4 separate regions of the Homo sapiens genome follow, and all the other regions are linked to region 2. Evidence: promoter capture Hi-C in human tissues and cell types (Jung and others, 2019). All regions are on one chromosome and are shown on one strand. The core of a region is centred on a gene start or on the middle of the fragment in contact, and the rest is flanking DNA. Distances in the headings are between cores, read along the strand shown.

What was found. The method cuts DNA at HindIII sites, captures the fragments that hold promoters and counts their contacts. A contact is called where the count stands out against the background at its distance.
Region 1: a contact is called between a fragment that was not itself captured here and the fragment with the promoter of MRPL38 in region 2, in 3 of the 25 tissues and cell types used here (dorsolateral prefrontal cortex, lymphoblastoid cells and spleen).
Region 3: a fragment that was not itself captured here is called in contact with the fragment with the promoter of MRPL38 in region 2 in 1 of the 25 tissues and cell types used here (dorsolateral prefrontal cortex).
Region 4: a contact is called between a fragment that was not itself captured here and the fragment with the promoter of MRPL38 in region 2, in 3 of the 25 tissues and cell types used here (aorta, dorsolateral prefrontal cortex and heart right ventricle).

The regions. Positions count from the first base shown.
Region 1 is chr17:76,056,091-76,058,792 of GRCh38, forward strand. It overlaps SRP68 (signal recognition particle 68), which reads right to left. Exons shown (of 16, transcript NM_014230.4): 8 at 1,313-1,453. Among named protein-coding and RNA genes, the nearest start is that of SRP68, 15 kb to the right of the region's middle. The HindIII fragment of the contact is 5,888 bases long and covers 1-2,702 here.
Region 2 is chr17:75,903,540-75,906,239 of GRCh38, forward strand. It overlaps MRPL38 (mitochondrial ribosomal protein L38), which reads right to left and starts at 1,345. Exons shown (of 9, transcript NM_032478.4): 1 at 1,270-1,345; 2 at 1,001-1,180. The coding sequence starts at 1,336. RefSeq lists silencers at 1,141-1,190, 1,211-1,260, 1,271-1,750. The HindIII fragment of the contact is 5,940 bases long and covers 1,016-2,700 here.
Region 3 is chr17:76,157,980-76,160,680 of GRCh38, forward strand. RNF157 (ring finger protein 157) reads right to left here. Exons shown (of 19, transcript NM_052916.3): 12 at 1,356-1,594; 13 at 414-522. Among named protein-coding and RNA genes, the nearest start is that of FOXJ1, 18 kb to the left of the region's middle. The HindIII fragment of the contact is 3,147 bases long and covers 1-2,701 here.
Region 4 is chr17:75,672,618-75,675,359 of GRCh38, forward strand. The region is part of intron 3 of SAP30BP (SAP30 binding protein); the gene reads left to right. Among named protein-coding and RNA genes, the nearest start is that of SAP30BP, 6.7 kb to the left of the region's middle. The HindIII fragment of the contact is 5,826 bases long and covers 1-2,742 here.

The sequences.
Region 1 (2,702 bases), core at 178-2,677, 150 kb after region 2:
CCATGAGCCACCGTGCCAGCAGTAACTTTTCAAAATTACTTAATAAATGCTAGCTTTTCCTGTTCTTCATTTGGTACGTGTCTGTAGCCCCACTCTGAAAGAGCCCTCATTTAACTTGCCCCTATGGATCTCTCTCCCCCAACTCCTCTTCAAGTCAGAATTCCTGCCCCACTGTCTCTGCTGTCTGGCACTGAACTGAGGACAGAAGTAGTTTCTTTCTTCCAGCATTGATCACTTTTAAAACCAAAGCACTAACCCAATCACATAATCTGAATAGTTGCTACCAGAGCCGTTGTCCAGTGGAGGTAGCACCATACAACAGTGCCAATAGAATGCTCTCAAAAAAAGTTCCTTAGCCTTTCAGTTTAAGCAAAAATTAACTTTCTAGTACTGTTCTAGTCTTCTGTCCTTTAAGCAAATAAAAGGGATATGAGACAGGCAATACGAAACACAGACAAGGACACACATCAACTCTTCAGCTGTTGAAGGCTGCCTCCAACCCATAGTAGCCATTCTGGAGCAAGTTGCTGAAATTTTAGATGCTTAAGCCAATTCCTCAACACATTAACAAAACACCACCCCACCAACCCATACACAAATTATTCAGGGTGCAAAAGATAACTGTGAGGTCTTCGGAAATGCCACTGTTCCCTGATGAGGCAGTAGACTGTCAGCAGCCTGTTTTTTTAAAGATGTCCTTTAACTCATGTGGAAAAGAAGCTCTAAAAAGTGCCCCCATCACTGTCTATGTCATACAAAGGTCACCAGGATGTCTTATCTTTTAGGACGCATTTGGTTGTTTGTACCCACCAATAGGTAACTATGTCAGTAGGCAGTATCAAGTGATAACAGTTTTGCATGAATATTACATGTACACCGCACACAAAACAAGACATTCTGGTTTAACCAGGCTATCCTGCAAAGCCCCAGGACTAAGAGGTGAACCCTTTAGGGCTAGGAGGTTACGACAACATGTCAGAGAAACTTCAGAGACATAATAGTTAAGCTGCTGCACCACCTGCTGGGCCAAATGTGACCCCTTACTTTAAGCCAGCCTCTAATGCCTCCCATTTTTATGTTGATGACTGTTGCTGTCAATTTCTTTGCCCTCTAAACATTAAGAATTCCTCTATAAACTCAGTTTTCAAAATAATTTTATTCAATAAGGCACATCTCCGTACTTACCAAATCCAAAACAGCATTAAAAGTTTGTTTTATGAGAACTGAATACCAACGAGCCACTACATCTTAAACACACAGGACAACCTTCAGACACATACAGAAGACAGCACAGTAAGTTCTTCCTCCTCACCTGGACAATAGCTGCTTCGTTATCAGCCAGTCCTAATAAGAAAATGCGCACTTTGTCAATCTTCACTGGAACCGTTCTCCCTCTCCACTCCACTTCACTCATGGTAGCTGCCTGTTTGGCTCGAGTCTGAGTGATCAAAGCCTGAAAAATAGTTTAAAAAAGTTAAAGCTTTAACTGGGGATATGAGTGATGGAGGTGAAAATAAGTGGAATCTATCATTTGTCTCTTTGTATAACCAACATATTATACTCCATAGAAAGTAGAGTATACACCAATTTCTTTCATTTTTTTTGAGACAGTCTTGCTCTGTCACCCAGGCTGGAGTGCAGTGGCGCTATCTAGGCTCACTGCAACCTCTGCTTCCCAGGTTCAAGGAATTCTTGTGCCTTAGCCTCCTGAGAAGCTAGAACTACAGGCACATGCCACCATGCCCGACTAATTTTTGTATTTTTAGTAGAGACGAGGTTTCACCACGTTGGCCAGACTGGTCTCAAACTCCTGGCCTCAAGTGATCCACTTGCCTCAGCCTCCCAAAGTGCTGGGATTACAAGCATGAGCCACTGTGCCAGGCCTCTTTAATTTTTTTAGTAGACAGGGTCTTGCTCTGTTGCCCAGGCTGGAGTGCAGTGGCCTAATGACAGCTTACTGCAACCTCCAACTCCTGGGCTCAAGTGATCCTTTTGCCTCAGCCTCTCGAGCAGCTAGGACTACAGGTATGTGTCACCATGCCTGGCTAATTTAAGAAAAAAAAAAATTTTTTTTTTTTTTGAGACGGAGTTTTGCTCTTGTTGCCCAGGCTGGAATGCAATGGTATGAGCTCAGCTTACTGCAACCTCCACCTCCCAAGTAGCTGGGATTAGAGGCCTGCACCACCACATCCAGCTAATTTTGTATTTTTAGTACAGACGGGGTTTCTCCGTGTTGGTCAGACTGGTCTCGAACTCCTGACCTCAGGTGATCCATTCACCTTGGCCTCCCAAAGTGCTGGGATTACAGACATAAGCCACTGTGCCCAGCCTCTGAAAAAAATTTTTTTTGTAGAGGTGGGGTCTCACTGTGTTGCCCCGGCTGGTCTTGAACTCCTGGGCTCGAGTTATCCTTTCACCTCAGCCTCCCACAGTGCCAGGATTACAGGTGTGAACCACCCTGCTGGCCACCAATTTCTATTTGTTTTAAATTTCTCCCTGGTATCATATATTTTAGCTACAGAAATTCAAATATTAAAAGGACATAGCGGAAGGTTAAAAAGAGTAACACTAAGTTTTGGTAAGGATGTAAGGAGAAAAGCATATCTGTATACGCTACAAGCAGGAATGCTAATCAGTAGAAACTTAAAGACATTTGTCAGTATGTATCAAGTTTCCAAACCATTTAATTCCAGTTTTAGGAA
Region 2 (2,700 bases), core at 95-2,594:
TTTTACAGTTGAAACAAGCTCAAGGACATTATCCGAGAGGCTGAGCTAGGATTTAAATCGGGCTATTTAGATTCCACGCTTGTGCCTTTAACCACCACAAAACTGCCTCTATAAATGCTAAAGAAAAGAAAAGAAAAGAAAAGCATATACTCCATAAATTGTAAGTTCCTTAAAGGTTGGGGTCTTTTTTTTTTTTTCTTTTTGAGACGGAGTTTCGCTCTTGTTGCCCAGGCTGGTGTGCAATGGCGCGATCTCGGCTCACCGCAACCTCTGCCTCCTGGGTTCAAGCGATTCTCCTGCCTCAGAGGCCTCCCGAGTAGCTGGGATTACAGGCATGCGACACCACGCCCAGTTAATTTTGTATTTTTAGCAGACACGGGGTTTCTCCATGTTGGTCAGGCTGGTCTCGAACTCCCGACCTCAGGTGATCCGCCCGCCTAGGCCTCCCAAAGTGCTGGGATTACAGGCGTGAGCCACCGCGCCCGGCCAGGTTGGGTTCTTTTTTGAGTCACCCTGCCCAGGCCTTTAATTTCATTCAGCAAAGTATTGCACATGTACATCCTTGCACTGTTCGGGTGCAAGGATCCAATGGAGGGCAAGACAAGCAGGATCCCTGTCAACAGGGCGCTTACAATCTGGGGAGAGGCAGCGCACAGTCAGAATGCAGTGTGGCCAGAGTTACCTACAGAGTATTTGAGGCGCACAGAACGGCATCCCAATCCGGAAAGTCAGGTGGTCAAGATTTTAGGAGCAAATATTTTAGGAGCTGGAACTCTAATAGTAGGGGGAGCGAATTTTCCAAGAATGAGGTGCAGAAGGTGTGAAAAATCCTGGGGTGATTAAGCTGCCGATAGCGCACACAGGTCTGCAGGCAGGCCCTCCCAGCGTCCCCAGCATCCACAAGGGCGCCGGCAAGGCTCGCCCAGCGCCCGGGGAAAACGCCGGCGGGTCCCGAGTTCCCCGGGCGGTGGCTGCAGCCCCTGCTCCAGTCGCCCCGCACCTGTCTTCTCCCCGAAATACTCTCGGTAGGTCCGCCACCAGTGCGGGGCCTGCGCCTCCTGCTCTGCTCGGCGCCGGTAGCGGTCGAAGCTCCGGTACTTCTCCAGCCGCTCCAGGTTGCTCAAGTCGATGTCACTGTTGGGCATCGGCCCCAGCGGGGGTGTCCGGCGGCCCAGGACGGCTGCGGGCAGAGAGAAGACGTAAGGCCGGCGCCCCACAGCTCGGGCGACAGCCCCCCCCCCCCCCCCCGCAGAGCTGCCCACCCCTCACCCGAGGTGCTGAAGCCCCGCCATCTCCGACACTCGCACAGCGCGGCTCGCCACCAGGGCGCCGCCATCTTCCCTCCGGCCTGCGACACTGCGGCCGCCACTAGGACCCGGGCACAGGTGGCCAGCGCGGTGCCTGAGCGCACCACAGCAGGCCCCGCCCCTAGGCCCGCCCCCGGGCCCGCGCTGCGGAGCAGGCCTCAGACGCCTGTCCCGGAGGCCCCTGCACCGTCTGCCTCGGGCGCAGGTGGAAGGTGGCCGCGGTCTGTAGACGCCCGGCTCCGGAAGTGCCCGTTGGACGGCGGGGCGGAGCCGAGAGCAGTCATATGCTCGCCCATGGCTGGCCACCAGGGGGCGGCACAGACCGGGGTCGGCCGCCGGGGCCCTCCTCCAACCCCTGGACGCTGCGTCCTGATTTCCCCAGGGACGCAGGCCTGGTTGGGAGAAGGGGTGCGAGCTCCGATTCCGGACTCTGCTTGGGTTTAAAACCCAGATTGAGGGCTGGGCGCGGTGGCTCACGCCGGGAATCCCAGCACTTTGGGAGGCCAAGGCGGGTGGATCACGAAGTCAGGAGATCGAGACCATCCTGGCCAACACGGTGAAAACCCGTCTCTACTCAAAATACAAAAATTAGCCGGGCGTGGCATACGCCTGTAATCCCAGCTACTCGGGAGGCTGAGGGAGGAGACTCGCTTGAACCTGGGAGGCAGAGGCGGAGGCTGCAGTGAGCCGAGATCGCGCCACTGCACTCCAGCATGGGCGACAAAAGTGAAAACTCTATTTCAATAATAATAATAATAATAAAATAATAGTAATAAAAACCCAGATTGTGGCTGGGCGCGGTGGCTCATACCTGTAATCCCAGCACTTTGGGAGGCCGAGGTGGGCGGATCATCTGAGGTAATTAGTTTGAGACCAGCCCTACGAACATGGCAAAACCCTAAAGATACAAAAATTTTTGTATCTCTACTAATGATACAAAAATTAGCCGGGCGTGGTGGCAGGCGCCTGTAATCCCAGCTACTCAGGAGGCTATGGCACAAGAATTAACTTGAACCCGGGAGGCAGAAGCTGCAGTGAGACGAGATTGCGCCACCACCTCGGTGCCAGAGTGAGACACCGTCTCAAAATGCCCCTCCCCCCCCCCAAAAAAAAACCAGATCGTGACCTTACTGTCTTCCTTGTGGTTTCCTCATTTGGGAAAAAGCAGGTTAACACTAGTGCTTACCTGACAGCTGTCAGGATGAAAAGATTACCCTCTGGAAAGCGCTCGCAGTGGTTTGTGTGTTAGCTCAACTATCTCCAACTTCTCATTATCCACACAAAGGCAGAAGTGACCTGGTTAAGTGCAGATGTGAATGTTTCTGGCAGGACTCAGGCTTGCCCTTGTGATCCAGTTCTACCATGGCAAAACTTGGTAGCCTGGGGAATCTGG
Region 3 (2,701 bases), core at 121-2,620, 250 kb after region 2:
TCTTGGCTCCTGGACCGCTTTTTAAGAATGGCAGCCCCCACTTCCAGCCGTGACACTCCCTTCCCACATGTCACACATGCTGATCCACAGCACCATCAGGCACACATGTATTTTTTTACCTATTGTCTTTTGTGCCCCCCACCCCAGATAGCAAGAATATAAATGCTACAAGGGCAGGGACTTTTGTAGTGTCCCAGCTACTATCCTCAGCATATAGCACAGTGCCTGGCAAATAATACAGGCTGCATACACTGTTGAATGCATGAATCCAGTGAAACCTTTGCCACTGCCTCAGAGGGTGCTGACAAGGTGTTTGATGAGTGAATGAGAGCAGAGGGACCTGATGAGGCATGCAGGTAGGAGGGAAGTCCCTGGAGTACAACACCCAAGAAGAGGAGAGGAATGTCAATTACCTCTCCGAGATGCTGAACCGACGGTCTCTGAGAGAGCTGTGTCTCCGACTCGCTGCAGGAATGCTCATCTTCCTCTTCATGCAGCACGGAAGAGTTTTGGGAAGTGGATCTGTAGGAGTCCAGTGGAAAAGCAGCTATATCCAACGTCCATTTAAAGAACAGAACTTACTGCAAGGGGAGCTGAGGGGAAAACCCAAATATTTTTTGCTTGTTTATTTTTTGAGACAGCATCTCATTATGTTTCCCAGGCTGGGCTGGGACTCCTGGGCTTCAGCGATCCTCTTGTTGACGCTTTAACAGAGGAGGAGTACAGCCTCCTGAGTAGCCGAGTAGGTCTGGGCTAACTTGCCTGGCTCGAAACCCAAATCTTAAGTAGGACTAGGGAAATAGAACCAGAGAGGGATGGAGACCTCTTTTGGGTGTCAGAAGCGCTAAGTTTTACTTTTAGCTCCTCTGATGACTTGCTATCTAAACTTGGGAAAAACCACTGCCATTTACAGGGTCTCAATATTTTCATCTGTAAAATACCCTCCCCTTTACTCTGCCACAGAAACCTTGTCATGATTTGTGCCTAGCTGGATTTAGATGTTTAAGAGATACGGATCACAAGGTTCCTTCAGTCTTCGGACTAAGCAATGCTCCCAGGGGCCTAGAAGGCCCTATCCACAGTGTTCAACATCCTCTTCCCTATATCCCATCCCCTATCCTTGAAAGAAAAAAAGAATACATAAGAGATTTGTCTCATCAGAGTTTTCTTAAGTACCTACATACCATCTTATTTTCATCTCTTAATGGATGGGATAACCTTCACGCAAGCAGCTCTGGGAACAGCCCAGAGGGTTACTCTGCCCTAAGTCCCCAGGATGTGGGCCAGCACCAAGGAGGGATGAAGCATTTCATCAAGGATTCCGGGGGCAACAGTGTGGAGCACTGGCTACTCACTTGGAGAGACTCTTTTTGAGTTTGAGTCCCTGACTGCTGCTGTCAGACAGGCGGTCAAGAGGCGAGATCGTCCTGACGGGGGGCAGGTGGCCATCACTGCCATATGAAGGGAGCATTCCTGAGAGGTGGCCATCTCCAAGCACGTGAAGTGGAGGAACTGCTGGGGACGGGGTGAGGGGCCCGTTGAGGGCCTCCAGAAGAGATACTACTTCATAGCCTGGTGGAATATTCTCTGAGGACTAGGGGAATCAGAGACAGGTTGAAAAATTAATTAGGTCCTTTTTGTTTTATGACGTGATCATGCTACTTCTCTACACTGAAAAAAATGTTTTATATCTGTTCTTGGGGGGGTCTGGTAAGAACAACTGTACTAGAGGCAGAGATAAAATATCAAAGAATCACACACTGTAGATCCTGCTTATTGGTAAGCTTTTTCTTAATAATCTCTATTTTTTTTCTGATTATAATGGAAATTTGGAAAATACATAAAAGTAAAAGTAAGGAAAAAAAATCACCAGTAATCAAATCACCCAAAGTTACTTTTGTTAGCATTCTGGTGTCTCTTCTTCCCATTTTTTTTCTGTGTACTATTTACACAGTTTTGATCAATCTGTAAATAACAATTTTATATTCTGCTTATTTTATTATACTTTCCTCTTTAAAAAAATAGAGATGGGATCTCACTATGTTGCCCAGGCTGGTCTTGAGCTCCTGGTCTCAATTGATCCTCCCACCATGGCCTCCCAAAGTGCTAGGATTACAGATGTAAGCCACCATGCCTGGCCAGAACATAAATATTTTCCTTTGTTTCTGAAGCCTCTTTATATATGTCCCCTTCTCATAGATCCCCTAAGTTTTCTAACTATTCTCCTAGTGCTGGGAATCTAGTTGTGTCTAACACATCCTATTGTAAACAAGTTTTGATGAACATCCTTGAATGCCTTTTTTTCAAATTATGTTCTTGTTATTAAATTATTAGCTCTTAGATGATGAGGTATAAATGTTTTTAAGGCCTTGATATATACTGCTGTTTTCTGCTGTTTTTTTTTTCAGTGCCTTTTCTAGTTACACTCCTATAAGTAATACAGAAGACCTATTCTGACTGCTTCCCCGAAAGCAGGGAGAATCGCTAAAAAGAAAAGTTTTTAAAATTTGAAAGTTGGAAAATGGTATTCTCATATTTGCATATCATTGATTTTTAATGTGGTTGAACTTTTTAAAAAATTCTATGTTGAGTGTGTTTTGTTTATGCCCTTTGCCCTTTTATCTACTGTTTTATTCAATATGAACTATGGCAAAGACATTAGCTTTTCCTCTGATACACACATTGTAAATAGTTTTTAAAA
Region 4 (2,742 bases), core at 102-2,601, 230 kb before region 2:
TATATCACTCTAGACCCGGGGAATAAGGACCCATTTTGCAGTTAAAAACTGCTTTGAGGCCAGCCGCAGTAGCTCACGCCTGTAATCCCAGCACTTTGGGAGGCTGAGGCGGGAGGATCACTTGAGGTCAGGAGTTCAAGACCAGCCTGGCCAGTATGGTGAAACCCCGTCTCTACTAAAAATACAAAAATTAACTGGTGAGACTGGTGGGTGGTGCACACCTGTGATCCCAGCTACTGGGGAAGCTGAGGCAGGGGAATTACTTGAACCTGGGAGGCAGAGGTTGCAGTGAGCCATGATCTGCCAATGCACTCCAACCTGGGCAACAGAATGAGAATCTGTCTCAAAAAAAAAAACAAAAAAAAACTGCTTGGAAACCAGCTGTAACTTTCAAGATGACCTAGTAAAATTTAGGAAATTTATGCCCAATTAAAATCTAAAACAGTAATATTCTTGAAAATATAGTGTGAGCTGTTCCATATTTGAGCTGATTCTGTGATTGGATAGAACTGTATGTAGCCACTAAAATCTTGAGACGTTGTGAGTGAGAAAGATAAGAGTGTGTTTTACCAGGAAAGAAAGTTTTGGCGCCAGCATGCAGGAGGGAAAAAAAAGAACCCCTGAAAACTGTAAATGCAACCTGCTTTCTATGCTGAGTGAAAAACCTGGAACCCAGGCCTGAGAACTCGCCCTGCCTGAGAACTGGCAAGATGGTATGGGCAGACCCATGGCCCCATAGTTCAAAGTCAGTCACAGCTCTCCTCGGGCTTGCAGAACAAAACACTCAGTAGTGATAATCTTCTCTGCCTAGTATTTAGGGTATGTGGGACTTGGAGCCTGCACGTAAAACAAGCCCAGGGAGCCGTTAAGTGTTTGGGTTTCAGTTGTGGAGGGAAGGGAGGATCTGGGTCCTAGAGTCTTTCTGGGTACAGTTGCAGCCTTTTCTTAGGGCTGGAAGGCTTCCTGGGGAAGTTGGCTGGAGAGGAGGGTACATAACACTTAACGGTCACCCCTTCTAAAATACTGTAATCCAGGCAACAAATCCTTGGGAGATGACAGGGCTTTGTGAGTCAGGGTGGGGGTCACATGAAAAACAAAACAGACTTTACTGCTGTCCAGTAGCAGTCACTAAAGAGCGGGGTGGGAGGGACCCAAAAAAGGTGAAGCTGGGAAGATTGTGGAAATGCCTTTTGTGCTCAGGCTCCCCTTCTCAGCCCTACATCACGGCTGACAGCCTCGTCATTCCTGCCTGCTCCTTGACTGATGTGCTTCGCTGTTCCTCATTCACTCATGTGCATTTCAAGTTTTACTGTGGAATGAAAAGTTTTCATGGAATAATTTCTGTTCCTCTTGAGGAGCCCTCAGAAATCAGAACACAAAATCCAACCCTCAAAGTCACTTGATATAGTTCTTTTGGAGGGTGATGGAGAAGGGTTTAGATAAAGCTTGCCAGCTTCAATGTTCTGCAATCCCCAGTGGCTGCCAGGCCTTTAGGAGTCCTCGTGGCATCTCCAAGGACTACAAATGATCCCCAGCATGAGTCTTCTGTGATACTCTTATCTTAGTCCTGGCCCTGTCATCCTTCTGCTTGAGCTGGCCTCAGACTCTCTTCCACATAGCAACATGTACCTCAAATCCAGAACTTTCTGGCACATTTACATTTTATTTTTATTTATTTATTTTATTTATTTTTTTGAGACAGAGTCTTGCTCTGTCGCTCAGGCTGGAGTGCAGTGCTGTGATCTCGGCTCAGTGCAACCTCCGCCTCCTGGGTTCAAGCGATTCTCCTGTCTCAGTTTCCCGAGTAGCTGGGATTACAGGTGTGAGCCACCATGCCCAGCTAATTTTTTGTATTTTTAATAGAGACAGGGTTTCACCATGTTGGCCAGGCTGGTCTTGAACTCATGGCCTCAAGTGATAGGCCCGCCTCTGCCTCCCAAAGTGCTGGGATTACAGGCATAAGCCACTGTGCCCAGCCCACATTTTTTTAAATTGATGTGTAACAATATTTTTTATATTCAAAACCCTTAATTTTGGACATTCTGCTTTAAGCATATGAAGTTTTTTTGTTTGTTTTTTGTTTTTTTTTTTTTTTTTTTTTTTTTTTTGAGGTGGAGTCTCCTCTGTCGCCTGGAGTGCAGTGGTGCCATCATAACTTACTGCAGCCACAACCTCCCTGGCTCAATTAATCCTCCCACCTCAGCCTCCCAAACAGCTGGGACTACAGGTGTGTGCATCACACCTAGCAATTTTTTTTAATTTTTTTGTAGAGGAAAGGTTTTGCCATATTGCCCCGGCTGGTCTTGAACTCCTGGGCTCAAGTAATCTGCCCACATTGGCTTCCCAAAGGGCTGGGATTAGAGCTGTGAGCCACCAGGCCCAGTGCACATGAACATAGGAAGTTTCTAACAATAGAATATGTTACAAGTGTGGATCTTTGTTAGAAGTGTTGTTTAACAATTAGATTACTGTCATAATTGTCATCTCCACTAGGTGGCATTCTCCTTTCTACTTTGGTTTTTTGTTGTTTTTTTGTTTTGTTTTGTTTTTGAGTAGGAGTTTCGCTCTTGTTGCCCAAGCTGGAGTGCAATGGCGCAATCTCAGCTCACTGCAACCTCTGCCTCCCGCATTCAAGCCATTCTCCTGCCTCAGCCTCCCGAGTAGCTGGGATTACAGGCACATGCCATGTCGCCCAGCTAATTTTTGTATTTTTAGTAGAGACGGGGTTTCACCATGTTGGCC